4 separate regions of the Homo sapiens genome follow, and all the other regions are linked to region 2. The links are contacts of gene promoters, found by promoter capture Hi-C in human tissues and cell types (Jung and others, 2019). All regions are on one chromosome and are shown on one strand. The core of a region is centred on a gene start or on the middle of the fragment in contact, and the rest is flanking DNA. Distances in the headings are between cores, read along the strand shown. Region 1 overlaps UVRAG (UV radiation resistance associated). Region 2 holds the start of UVRAG (UV radiation resistance associated). Region 3 overlaps UVRAG (UV radiation resistance associated). Region 4 holds the start of WNT11 (Wnt family member 11).

The links. The method cuts DNA at HindIII sites, captures the fragments that hold promoters and counts their contacts. A contact is called where the count stands out against the background at its distance.
Region 1: a contact is called between a fragment that was not itself captured here and the fragment with the promoter of UVRAG in region 2, in 1 of the 25 tissues and cell types used here (dorsolateral prefrontal cortex).
Region 3: a fragment that was not itself captured here is called in contact with the fragment with the promoter of UVRAG in region 2 in 1 of the 25 tissues and cell types used here (dorsolateral prefrontal cortex).
Region 4: a fragment that was not itself captured here is called in contact with the fragment with the promoter of UVRAG in region 2 in 1 of the 25 tissues and cell types used here (dorsolateral prefrontal cortex).

The regions. Positions count from the first base shown.
Region 1 is chr11:76,130,502-76,134,035 of GRCh38, reverse strand. All of the region lies in intron 14 of UVRAG (UV radiation resistance associated), which reads right to left. Among named protein-coding and RNA genes, the nearest start is that of WNT11, 74 kb to the left of the region's middle. The HindIII fragment of the contact is 7,935 bases long and covers 1-3,534 here.
Region 2 is chr11:75,813,926-75,817,387 of GRCh38, reverse strand. It overlaps UVRAG (UV radiation resistance associated), which reads right to left and starts at 2,178. Exons shown (of 15, transcript NM_003369.4): 1 at 1,864-2,178. The coding sequence starts at 1,980. UVRAG-DT (UVRAG divergent transcript) reads left to right here and starts at 2,591. Exons shown (of 2, transcript NR_144531.1): 1 at 2,591-2,925. RefSeq lists a silencer at 1,855-2,054 and enhancers at 2,350-2,644, 2,515-2,944, 2,868-3,462. The HindIII fragment of the contact is 17,046 bases long and covers 1-3,462 here.
Region 3 is chr11:76,097,124-76,100,504 of GRCh38, reverse strand. All of the region lies in intron 13 of UVRAG (UV radiation resistance associated), which reads right to left. Among named protein-coding and RNA genes, the nearest start is that of WNT11, 110 kb to the left of the region's middle. The HindIII fragment of the contact is 3,716 bases long and covers 1-3,381 here.
Region 4 is chr11:76,204,122-76,207,354 of GRCh38, reverse strand. WNT11 (Wnt family member 11) reads left to right here and starts at 853. Exons shown (of 5, transcript NM_004626.3): 1 at 853-1,030. The coding sequence starts at 948. RefSeq lists an enhancer at 1-396 and a silencer at 701-940. The HindIII fragment of the contact is 7,202 bases long and covers 1-3,233 here.

The DNA of each region.
Region 1 (3,534 bases), core at 452-2,951, 320 kb before region 2:
GGTTGCGTGAACCGAGATTGCAGTACTGCACTCCAGCCTGGGCAACAGAGTGAGACTCCGTCTCAAAAAAAAAAAAAGAAAAGAAAAAAAGAAAAAAAAAAGTATAAAAGAGATTTGGAGAAAAAGACCCAAATCAATCAACAGATTTAATCTGTTCAATGTGAAACACAATCTTAGGTTTTTTTCTTTTTTTCTTGGGGACATGAGGTGGGGAAAGCTTTGAATAAAGTCAAAATGCTCAAAATTCCTCTGTTTTCATGATCTACCTACTGCTTAGGGACTAGAAGAACTTCCCAGAATCCTTTGAGGTACATTCCAATTGTCCCCAAACCCCTGATGCATCCTTGTTCTGCATGAATTTAGCTTCAGGAAGAGAGAATTTTTTAAGAGGGAGAAATTCTCTATTTCTCTGACTAAAATGAAGAAGACCATATTCAGCACTTTTATAACCATTATATAAATACCTTGCCATGCAAATACCTTGCCATGAAGCCAACCCAGGAACTGGTAGAGCCCAGTTTCCTCTACTCCACCATCCTTGCCCCCATCATTTCCCTCCTCTTCCTCTTGGTTTTACTGCCTGAAGCTGTAGCCTCCTTTTACAGAAAAGAGATTGGGAAAGAGAAAACAAGTTAAGAAAGCACCAGTCCAAAATGTGATTCCCATTTCCACATCTCCCATAGGTAATATTCCAGAGCTCCACATGTAGCTCCATCGTTAGGAAACACGAGACACTGATGATGCACCTCACTGCTCCCAACCTAGGTGTCCTCTTCTGTGAAATGGTTATAGCTACCAATAGTTACTGCAGTAAGGATTAAATGAGATATACAAGTAAAATTCCTAGTACAATGAATAAGTACCCAATAAATTATTAATAATAATAAAACGGCAACTAAAATTTATAAAGCGCTATGGATTAAGCACTCTGTTAACAGCTTTATACATGGTCTCATTTAATCCTTATGACATCTCTGTGAAGTATTACAAACATCATCCTCATTTTACAGATGAAGAAACTGAAGCACAGAGGTTAGGTAACTTGACCAAAGGTCATGAAGCCACTAGGTAGAAAGATGTGATTTAACCAAGCCGGTCTACCTAATTGTTAATTTCCTTCTCTCTCCCAGTCCCTAGGATCTTAAGTTTTTTGTTGTCACCAAAACATCTACATTTGATCTCTACTTCTACTTGAGGATGGGGTGAGAATGAGAAAAATTTTTAGGTTAAGTGGATTGGTATATTTTCCTTCTCTTCTCTTCCTGCCTACATTAAGTTTGTGTTGCTCTTTTGACTTTCTAAGACTTATACTGTTAGGCATTCTAAGCATCAGCTATGAGCAGAAATAAATTCTGCCACGAACTGATGTAAATGTGGAAACTTACAGGAAAAATGAAATAAAGAAAGCATGTAAAGATTTACCACATCAAGAGAGTTCTTGAAGCTGGGGTGAGGCTTTAACAATTTGAAACACTTTTTTTTTTCCTAATTCTCTTTCAGATTCACTTGTACTTGTTTTATCTGTCTACAACCAGGTCCCACACTGTAAAGTATGAGGACAGAGTACAATTCACAGTCTCAAATATGTGTCTTTCCCTCCCTACAAAATGTTTCCTCTGAGGGACATTACTAGATCACAGCTGGTCAAAATACTAAATCTTGATTGTCTGGCTCCCGGCCAAAATCTACAGCTACAACTCAGTGGAATAAGAATATTTAAAAAGAAAAAAAAAGACTTTTAAACAACATTTGATCTTCTTCTTTCTCCCTCCTTGTAGCAATCTATGACCTCATGGCAGTGAGACCTCTACATGGAGGTGTTTAAGTTGGTTTACGGCCACCAGAAATGTTTGAAGCTCTAGGTACTAGTCTGCGCCAATATCATGTCAACTGTGTTAAAAAGCAATAATAGTTTCTCACCTTCTTAAAGATTACTGCTTAAATAATGCAGAGCAACGACAGGCTTGCACAGAGTGCCAAAAGCGGGTTGCCAAGGCAAAGCTGAGGTAGAATTACGTCTTTTGGCAGCTAAGAAATTATGACATAAAGTTAGTTTTTTCAAAAAAACAACCTTCATAAATTAAGCTACTATCCTTTTTTCAAAATTCAGCAAAGGTTGGGATTTATCCTTCTTCTTTCCCTCTCTCAGATCAAGTAGGAGCTCAGAACCTCCTTTAGGGAAAGCCAAATTTAACAGCTAGATCTTATCTCCCAGGAGGTAGCTGGGGGTTAATAGTTTTAAGCATGCATTCTCCAGGCCACAGGCAAGCAATCCAAAGGCCTCTCACCATTACCAGATAAGTGTAAGTACTTAATCTTTGCCCTGGATGTTAACAAAAACATGAAACAAAATAAAAATAGAAACAATATTGGGCCAAAAGCACAGGCTGAAATCTGTGCCAATGGTCACTTTTCCCCCGGGGCTTTGCTTGGAAGGTTTCCTACCAAAGTCTGTCTAAATAAAAACAGAGTATAAAAAGGTATAACTGAACAAGGCAGCCTTTGGATTTTATTTAAACCAAGTAGTGATGGAAAGATGAATTGGTGAAAGAGAAAGTTCCACAGGCAAAAGACAAAATAAGCAAGCTGAAGAAATCCAGTTCACCAGGCTTTGTGATGTGAGGTCTTGGCCATCAGGCCTCCATGGCCCAGCTTGGGCCAGTGGACAGAGGATGAGGGGGTGCCTATTGCCGAGAGCCCATCTGGAGGCCAGCTCAGGCTCCAGGCTGAGCTCCATGGGATCAGGGAATACACAGTGATCCTCCACGGAGATAAAGAGAGGTCCTGGGAGGGGTCAAGTCAACCACTTCACTCATCAGCTTTCACTTTAAGAAATCATCATACAAATTAATGTAGTAAAATCACAGTCAGGCAACCAACATTATGAGGACTGTAAAATGGTCTGTAGAAACAGACATAGCCCATCTTGATGTCATTTATATAGGGCTTAAGTAACATCCTACACGAGAACATGGAAAGAACAGGAAAGAGATGCCAGGAATGATACCTGGGGACCCCTCGGAGTATCTGGACAACACTTGATACTTGGGAATAATAAACTGTTTATGCTGAAAACCAGGGAAAAAATGAAAAAAAAAAACAAAAAAACCCAAAACCTCTGCCTTTGCCAGGGAAACCAGAGGAACAACAATCTCACAGAACCCAGCCCCCAGAAGGAACTCGATAGGGAAATTAAAACCCTGGTCAGAGAATGCTTTCAGAGTTTAAAAACTAGACTTGGAAGGGAGCTAAAGGATGCATTAGACTCCCAGGGCCAGTGACAGAATCTGTGAGATGAAGTCTTTGAAAGATACTACTAACACTGACCTACCATCAGCTCTCTAATAAACTCTCACTGAACCAAACTGTGAGGGTTTAGTTGTTTGTTACTTTAAAAGAAAAATGGATAGCTCTGCCACCATTTTCAGAGATGCTGGAGGCCTTGGGCAGAAGTGTTTGAGTTGCAATTTGCCGCAATTTAATTACTGTTTAGTAAGAGACTGGGACTCTAGAGATGACATCTTGGTAACCTTA
Region 2 (3,462 bases), core at 929-3,428:
ATCAACAGTTTGTTTGCATTAGTTTTCCCAGTGTTAAACTGTGAACTGTTATCAGAGAATAGGCTCCATGAAGTAAATGATGCTTTCTCTTTCCTAATCCCACACACTCTCGAAGCTCCCCCAAACTAAAACCTTCTTGGCCCCTGAACTCCTTAGGACTTCTCCAGGGTGTTTCTAACGGTGCTCCCTATTCCCTCTCCCAGTAACCACTCTCACACTCTACCTCCCACACATACAAAAACTCACATTAATGCTCACTCCAGAGACGTGTCTCCCTCCCTAGCCAGACTTCTACCCTCTCCCTGTATCTCACAACACAATCCAAACCCCCACTACCCTCAAACTCCCACTATTCAGAAATTCCCTGCCAACAGCATCACAAAACCAGGGCACATGGTATCTTTTCAATCCTCTTCGGTAGTAGTCACACAAAAAGCCGTTGCTACTGTAAGCTCTTCTGCCTGCCTATTCAAAGGCAACCACAGTGGTTATTATCTCCAACTCTTCTCTTCCCTTTAGCCCCCGCCTCCTTTACTGCACTCAAATCCATTTCACTTTTCAACCACTCTCTCCCCTACAACCTCTCCCTTCCTCTTTCTGAATCCTTCCTAAGTCCCACTGGTAGCTGATGGAAAGTTGGAGGGGTGTATGAAAGAACTCACTCTGTCCTGTGTAAAGGTGGTGGAGGAAGGCTGCCCAAGTCTCAAGCACGTGCATGGCTGCAGAGTCAGACACTGGATTCTGCAACCCAGCCCCACCACTTACTAACTGGAAGGCTCTGGACAAGCCTCAGTTTCCTCAACTGCCAAATGGGGGTAATAAAAACAGCTATCTCACAGAGTTGTGAAAATTCAGTGAACTAATGGCCACTGAGCCCTTTGCACAAATCCAACACGGTAAGTTCTCAGTAAATGACAGTTTCTCTAGATCCTCTTCTTGGCAGGAGGAATAAAGGGAGAGGGTGAAAGGTATTCTTTAGGTCTCTTTAATGCTAAGATTCCTGCAAAATCTCCCCTTGGGGGACAGAAGGAAGGCAACCGATATAAGGAGGGAAGTACTCTACAGATATGTGAGTGAAACAAAGAGTTTTGTCACATCTCCAAAGTCAGTGTTTCCCCCTTCTTATCTTCCTACAACGCAGAGCCAAGAAGTCCTCAAAGCCCTTCCTAAAGGATGGAGGAACACATGAATATATACATCAAATCCTCCTTCCACAGAGACTCACTGAAGGGAATGAAGAAGGAAAAAGTCCTCCTAATTATTAAGATGCGTTCCTTGGGACTCGGAGAATTAGGAAGGAAACCCCCAAGTCTTGAATACATTTCTCTAAAGAGGCCGAATACTTAATAATCAGGGGAGATTAAAGCAAATGGTAGACACCCTAAAGTCTCCTCCAGGGCTCTTGCACGAAGAGTACAAACTGGTTTCTCCGTAAGCGGGGATGGCCAGGTGGGGAAAGAAAGGAAAAGTGCTTTCACTATGGCCCGTGGGACACAGGGGGTTCCCCGGGTCCCTTCCTGGGCGGAACGAGGGAGAGGGTCTGCGCGGGGCAATCCCCGGCTCCCTGCGTTGGGGGAGGCGGCCTCGGGCCGGGGCCCCAGGGACTTGAGCTGGCTGGCTGCTTGTCCCTTAACAAGCCCATCTCCTGTAACGGGATTCTCCTAGGACTCCGGGATCTCCCGGAGGTTCGGCCATCACTGGACCCCTCCCCGCACAAACCTCCTGACAGTCTTCCTCAGTCCCGCGAGCCCTCCGGGTCCCTGCTCTGGGTGTCCCGGCTCGCGGGGTCAGCCCGGAGCCAGCAAGCTCTCCACGCGGGCCTGCCCGGGTCCCTCCCGAGTGCTGCGAGCCGCGCGGGCTTACCTGCTGAGACGGCAGCTCCACATGCAGGGCCCGCGCGGCAGAACCGGGAGGCAGAGCAGCGGCCGGGCCCGGGGGTGGCTGGGGGACGGGGCCCCCGACCGACGCGGAGGCGCTCATCTCGATCCAGGGGCCGCCAAGCGGCGGGGCGGGCACTCTTCCGGCATCCGCCGCCGCCCCCTTGCCACCACCTACCAAGCCCCTGCAGCCTAGAAACCCGCCACCCGAGAGGCACTACTGCTCAGCCCAGACAGTAGCCGCCGCCGCTGCCGCCGCTGCCGCCGTTGCCGCCGCTGGCTAAGGAAGAGCCATATTACCGCAGTGCAACCCCTCCACCCCGCTGAGACCCGGAGCGCTCATTGGCTTAGCCCTCAAGGGGGCGGGACCCAACGGCAGAAAAGGGGCGTGCTATTGGGTAGAAGGTCTGTCCATCGCTGGCATTACTGGACTTGGGGGCGGAGGGACTCAAGGATGGCCTCAATTGCGTCTGTCAAGCCGGGGTGAAACCTGGGGCGTTGCTTCTTTTTTTCCCAGTCTAATTGGTTCTTTTACTACCAACGGGCAGAGTCTCCTGGTGGAGGCGGAAGGGCCATTGCAAGAGGTCGCTGTCAATTGTCAGTAAAGGGAAAGAGGGGTGGGGTCTTGATTAGGTAGAGCGCGCTTCTGGGCTCCGGTGTCACGTGCAGGAGGCGGGAGAGTCACCTGATTAGGGAGAACCGGTCTTCTGAGCCACTTCCGCCCTCACTGGTTGCCGTGGTAACAGGCCTCCGGTGGAGGGCGGGGACCCTCGGAAGCCAGCTGGGTGGCGATCGCTTGTCTGCCTTGGCAGGCCCCTTGTGCAGTCTTTTCCCGGCGTGAGCGTGCAGGGATTGAAAAGGAATGCTTTATGGTTCAGCAGAGAGCCACCACGCAGGATGCACTGGGACCTGAGAACCGTCGGGCAGTCCCACGAGCTCTTTCATGACCAGCTCCAACCGACAAGTACACGCCCCTTCGCACTCCACTAGCTAGTAAGCTGAGCTACAAGGTGTGCCAGGCACCCAGGACGCCGATTCACCGCTTCAGGTGGGCTGTTTGTGCTGTGTCCCCAGAAAGCCTTTGCTACTTATCCATCAGTCTTAGCTGGGGCAGGAGTCCCTTCTTCCAAAAGGCTTCTCTGAGCCTCTCTGGGACCTTGAGTTAGGAATTTTGACCCTACCGTGGGTCTGGATTATTCTATTAATTTTTTTTAACAGTGCCTCATTCTTTCGCCCGGGCTGGAGTGCAGTGGCAAAATCACGGCTCATTGCAGCCTCGACCTCCTGGGCTCAAGTGATCCTCCCACCTCACCCTCCTAAGTAGCTGGGAATACAGGCACATGCCACCAGGCCCAGCTAATTTTAAAATTTTTTTGTAAAGATGGGGTTCTGGCCATATTTCCCAGACTAGTCTCAAACTCCCAGGCTCAAGCGATCCTCCAGTCTCGGGCTCCCAAAGTGTTGGGATTACAGGCATGAGCCACCAGGCCTGGCCACATTGTCTTTTAACACATGTAAGCAGCCACCCTCCTTCCCACACACACACAAAATACTGTGAATTCTTCAAGCAAAAGGACTTTGTCTG
Region 3 (3,381 bases), core at 443-2,942, 280 kb before region 2:
AATTCATGGGGAGAACATGGCCTAAGCAGTTCACTGATGGACAGGTAATATTTAGATGAGGTAAGCCAGTGGAGAGAGTTTCTGGAATTTCATCAACACTTCCAATAAACATTTTTGTGTATCTACTATGTGTCAGGCACAATGGGGTTAGTCCTTAACAATAGTATAGAGGTTTTTAGTTAGCAGATATTTTGAACATTAAACATATTAGGACACACTCCCCAGGGGCTAATTTAAGTGCTCAGGGGAAAGGGTTAGCAACACTGAAGAATCATTTCTGACTTTATCTCCTTTTGGAAGTGTGAGTTTTTGTTCTCCATAGATTATAGTTCTCTAAAATATTCTGGAAGATTTTTGTCAGGGTAAGAGCCAAATTTGGATGTTTAAGCTTATGGAAAGCAGACTGGACAATTAAAAAACACATTGTGATTTTGTTTATCAAATTGGGAATGCGTAACATTATATATAATAATCCATTTCAAGTATAATGGTCACAAGTCAAAAATCACAGCATAAGACAGAGATGTTCACTACTACCATAATCAGTTAATACTAATTAGGTAAGAAAAAAAGTCTAGAGCTATAAAAATTGGAAAATAAGAGGCAAATGATCATTTTTAATAGATATGATTATACATTTAGAAAGTCCATGCAAACCAAATGAAAACTCATCACAAACAATAAAATACTTCAATACAAAATTGAAAAACAAAAATCAATGATTTTCCTTTATATAAATAACAATGAATTAGAATATTACGTGGTGCTATTTTAAACAGAAACAAAGATAAAATACCTGGAAATAAACATAACCAAAATAGCAAGATCTATATGAAGAAAACTTTAATATTCTATTGAGGGATGTAAAAGAAGATATTAGTAAGTGGAAACTCATATCCTATTCTTGAATAGGAAGACCTGTTACTATAAAGATGACATTTCTCTACAAACTAACCTATACATTTACTATAATCCTACTTAACATACAAATAGGATCTTTTTAGAACTAGAACACTTATTCCAAAGTTTAGTCTTGTTTTAGTAAATAAAGCATTTTCTATTGATTAGGCCCTGTTTTAAGTACTTTACAAATATTAATTCATTCAATTATCATAAGAACCCTAACAAAGCAGGTACTGTTATTTTCCTCGTATTACAGATGAAAAAATGGAGGCACAGAACAAGAAAATAATTTGCTCCTATGATCCCTACACAAGACCTACAAGACGACTGTAAATGCTTCAATGACAGAGAATTTATTTTACTTACTGTTAAATGCCCAGCAGCTAATATCATGCCAAGTGTGTGGTAGTTAATAGACTTTTTTGGGGGAACTGCACTGCAAATTGCAAGGGTGAAATCCACATTTCCTTATTTGATGAATACATCCTTGTTGGAAAAGCTTTCTTGAGGTGTTAGGACCTAAGCCATTATCTGAAAGAAGATGAGCTGAATGCATTAACAACTGGGAAAGGAGGCCAGTGAGTGGAGACTTAGAAAGACTCTAAGCAAAGTTCAGAGGCAGGTAAGCATGTATGATGAACGTGTGTGGATGCATGTCTGGGAGTAGTGGACTGGCTGAGGAACCATTTTATTTAATTTCGAACAACAGAGCAGGAATACAATTTTGTTTGCATAAGGTGCTTTGAAAATGAATTTTATATAATGTGTGAATCACCTATGCAGGCATGAACAATTTTGGACAACTGTGTTGGGGGTACGAAAAAAATCAGCATAAATTTGTTTTAGGTGTATTAAAATTTCCATCAAGGATCTGGTAAATGAGGGCTCCATTTGGTATTTAAATATTACTCTTTGTGCTATTCATCTTTGAGCACATTATGATACAAAACTACCCCCATCAAATCAATCAGCTTTTCCAAGGACTGTGCCACACTTATTAAACAATGATGTGGTCTTCTATCTTCAAACTGCCACTTACACATTAACTTCCTAGCTAACTCCAAAAATTCTTGACTGAAAAACAATCTAATAAAAAGCCATTTTAAAATATATGAGATGGTACAGGAGAAGGAACAACAAAATGAAAGGGTCTTTGGTTGGCATCTAGGTTTGCGAGTTACTCTCTGTATGACCTTGGGCAAGTCTCTTACCCCCGCCTGAGCCTCTGGCTCATATAACAACACCTGCTTGACAGAATTATTGTGTGGATTAATTAAAGTAATTTTTGGAAAACTCCCGACACAGTCTGTGAGTTCTAAGTATCTTACAAATGTTAGTTATCTTCCTTTTCCCTCAGTAGCTATTCCTAAGGACACTGTTTCTTAAACTAAACCATTAATGCTATACCTTATTTTTCTACTTAATTTATTATTAATTTTTCTTTCTAACTTCTTTCAGTTAAGACTATATGTTGCTATTTTGGATCTCAACTGATTCAAGCGTGTCTAGAAGAGATAAGACTCACCAAAAAAACAAAAAAACAAACAAACAAACAAAAACCATCCGAGATGAACGATAAGATCCACAGCGTTTTGAAGATAAGAAATGCCAAATTTCTGTGGATGAAAGTAGATTAAAGTAATAGGGTTAGAAAATGGATAGAACAACAAAAATGGAATGATAGTGGCAGGGTTATCAGGTAGAGGATATAAAACTATAGGCGGTAAGGAGTAGACTTACATTTTGAACCTAAGTTCATCCATATATATGTTTAACAGAATGAATATATACACTTCAAATAGAATTTCAACTAGCTATATAAACTAGCTATGGTAACAACACTATTTCTTTTTGTTCCACCTTCAGTCTTGTATAGGCCCAAAGAAGACAAGCACCTAGAAGCATATATTCATTCAATCAATAGATATTGAACCCCTTCTATGAGGTAACAAAGATAAGGAAGAGGCAGTTCCATAATATAATAGAAAGACATTTAAAAATCAGAAACATAAGTACAGTAAAAACGAGTAAAGAACACATTAAAAATGAGTAAGGACCACATCAGAGGAATATACAGGAACGCAGAGAAGGAACACCTAAGTCTCAGTGAGACTAGAAGGTTCAGAAAAGAAGTGATAACCTGTCTGGACTGTGGCATACTAGCTGGATTTCAGTGAGTGAAAGGGCAGGGAGGCACAGTATTCCAGAGAGAGGAAACTGCATGTGCAAATCCCCAGAAGCACGAGAGAACGTGAGAAACAGCACGTGGTGTGGCCTGGTGGAGACAGGGAGGAGAGAGAGTAATGTAGGTTACTAGAGGAGCAGCAGCCTAGAGAGGAAAATTTTAAGCAAGGTTCTGAATTCCAGGTGCCCCAGAGAAGTCATGAGCATGCCTGATGACAGTGACGAGGTGTGACAGAGGGTCGAGCAGTTATACAGGCTCAAAGAAGGATGATGGTTTTACACAAGGAGGGAAAC
Region 4 (3,233 bases), core at 505-3,004, 390 kb before region 2:
TTTCGCTCTTGTCGCCCAGGCTAGAGTGCAGTGGCGCAATCTCCGCTCGCTGCAACCTCCGCCTCCCGGGTTCAAGCGGTTCTCCTGCCTCAGCCTCCCGAGTAGCTGGGATTACAGGCGCCCGCCACCACGCCCGGCTAATTTTTTGTATTCGTAGTAGAGACGGGGTTTTGCCATGTTGGGCAGGCTGGTCTCGAGCTCCTGACCTCAGGTGACCCGCCCGCCTCGACCTCCCAAAGTGCTGGGATTACAGGCGTGAGCCACCCTGCCCGGCCAGGGAACGTTCTTTATAAAAGCGGAATTGTGCCCGAATTGCCCCAGCTTACTGAGGAGGTAAACTGAAACACGTTTGGGAAGGAGAATTGCCGAGGCCCTATTAACTAATGCTCAATATTGCAGGGATAAGCCCCAGCTCCGGGTCCTCGACTCTGCTGCCTCGCCTGGACTCCTGATTCCTCATTCCTCTCCTTTCCGTCCCAGGTTGCGTCTGTCCGGGTTTCCCCCTCTGTCTCCGTGGCTCTCAGCCTTGTCCTCTGAGCGTCCTTCTCCCTCTCGCTGTGTCTGCCCGGTCTCTCCTGGGTCTCCGGTTCTGCCGCCTCCTGTCCCTCCTTCCGGCTGCCCCGGCCAGAGGGGCTCGAAGGCGCGTTGGGGCCCGGGGCCACGCTGGGAGACACGCCTTCGGCCGCGCCTAATTCGAGCCAGGCGCGGGACGCGTCCCCCGGCCGGGCGGAGCGGGAGGGGACGCCCGCCGCGCTCGGCCTCCCCGGGCCCCGACCCCTCCTTTGTAATTTGAATAAAACGCCTCCCCCGCCCGCGCGCCGCCTTAACCCGCCGCCTCCGCTCTCCCCGGCTGCAGGCGGCGTGCAGGACCAGCGGCGGCCGTGCAGGCGGAGGACTTCGGCGCGGCTCCTCCTGGGTGTGACCCCGGGCGCGCCCGCCGCGCGACGATGAGGGCGCGGCCGCAGGTCTGCGAGGCGCTGCTCTTCGCCCTGGCGCTCCAGACCGGCGTGTGCTATGGCATCAAGTGGCTGTGAGTAGGGACCCCGCGTCCACGCGCACAGGCCAGGGACTGGGGCGGCGGAGGGCGTTTTGGGGTCCCCTGGATGGGGCGAGCGCACCAAGACCCGGGAGCCTAAGCTGGCTTGGCGGTCGTGGGCAAGTCATCCCTCAGCCTCTGTTTCCTCCTCTGTAAAATGTCCCTGCCTCCCGCAGGCTTGCGAAAAGGGAGTGAGACGGGCGTGGACCACAATGGAAGCGCCTGGTCCTGTGCAGCTGACGGTGGCGCAAGGGCCACGGAGTTTCTGGCCACCTCCGCAGGGGCAGATGGAAAAAGACATTCTGTTCAGGGGGCGCAATCCAGAGCGGCCAGCCCAGGAGCGGTCCTTGTCCGTCAGTCTCCTTGACCCTAGCGGGAGTTCCGCTGAGACACTCCTGACCCCTCCACCTGGGCGACCTTGGGAAAGTGTCACTCTACTTCTTGGGGCCTCCTTGTCCTCCTCTGTCACGGGAGGGTGAGACTCCCCACCTCCCTCAAATCAGATGAGAAGAGGCTCCTGAAAGGACCTCAGAAGCTGTCAGATGCCACTGTGCACATGTGCAGGGCATTCCTTTAGATAGAAATTATTCACGCAGGGGTAGGAGGGAGAGAGAGGCTTGGTGCCGAGCTGAAGGGAGTGCCTGCTCAGGGGGCTGGGGGTGGTGAAGAGAGGAGTAAACACCAGCCCCTTCCCGGAGGAGCTGCGCTCTAAGTTGAGAGAGATAAGCCCAGGCTGTAAATAACTCCACAAGTGTCCAAGTGCCCGAGGAGAAACCAGAGCGGGAATCTGGAGGCCTAGAGGAAGGAAGCCCACCTGGTGGGGACACAGATGTGAGACACCGGGAAGCTTTTCCGAGGCTGTGCCTCTGGTGACTGAAGCGCTGCTGGGAGTTGGCTGGTTCGGGCAATGGAGAGGACGCTGTGGGCAGAGGGGCTCCCTGAGAGGGAAAGTCCAGGACAGGACAAGGGTCTGGAATCTGGGGCCAGGGCAGGGAGCCTGCAGATAAGACAGCAGGGGGCAGGTTGTGGGGGCTGGGGAGGGCGCTGCAAAGGGTTTGTGAATTAGTTGGAAGACAGGGTGATAGTGGCTGCGCCGCCAGCAAACAGTCTGGAGGTCACTGGCCCTGCCCCTTCTCAGGCCAAGTTATTGATTAATTGACGATTCGAGGAGGGAACCCCGTCTTCCTGCCTTTCTTGTTTACAAGAAGCCTGGTCTCAGCAATCTCCCAGCCCTGGGCACTAGCTTTTCCCAGCTGTCCCTGAGGAGTTCTGTGAGAAACCAGCCACCTTCCTTTTGCAATGGGGTACCCAGCACTGTTCCAGCTGGCAGGGACCTCCGATCAGCGAGTCCAAGCTCTCTCATCCACCGCCACCATTTTACAGATAAGGATACTAAGGTCCAGGGAAGGAGAGGATTGGCTGAAGGAGCGTCAGAGGCCTTGCAGTGGGCTTGGGTGTCATTTGCCGCCCATAAGAGTCCTGTGGGGTCACTGCCATCATCCCTGCTCCACAGTGGGAACACCGAGACCCTGCAAAGGGCATGATGCACGCAAGCCCCCACGCTGGCCTGTGGTGGGATGGACGGCTGGCTAAACCTGACGTCCATGTCCTCTGTCCCCACTGCAAAGTCAGGCTGCCACAGAAATGGGTACAACTCATTGTGTGCCTTAAATAAGCCCCCAGGCTCTTGGGGGAGATGGACATATAGAAATACAAAGTGGACTATGGTCTGTGTCCTAGCAGAGGGAGCATGGCAGCCCAGAGGAGGAGTGATCAGTTCTATCTAAGGGAGATGCATAGGCCAGGATTGGAAGGACAGGGAGGATTTGGATGGTCAGAGACGGAGTGCAAAGCAGGCGTCCTAGGCGGGAGGCACAGCACGAGCAGAAGCCTGGAGGCCGAACAGCGCATGCGGGGAGACCTGGAGAAACCAGGCACCACAAGAGCCTACTCCTAAGTGCCCCAGACGCTGCTCCGAGAGCTTGGGTCATGTAAGTTAGATCATACTGCACTCCTATGAGAAACTGATAGTCTAGCAATAGGGGATTAAAGTCTTGCTAGAGTTTAAGATAGAGGGGGAGGTGGGAAAAGGGGTGGAGTTTAAGAATAACAACGATCTGTGTATGCATGTGTATATATAGATACACGTGTGTAGGCCACGTGCATATATCTATGTATATGTACATATATGTCTACA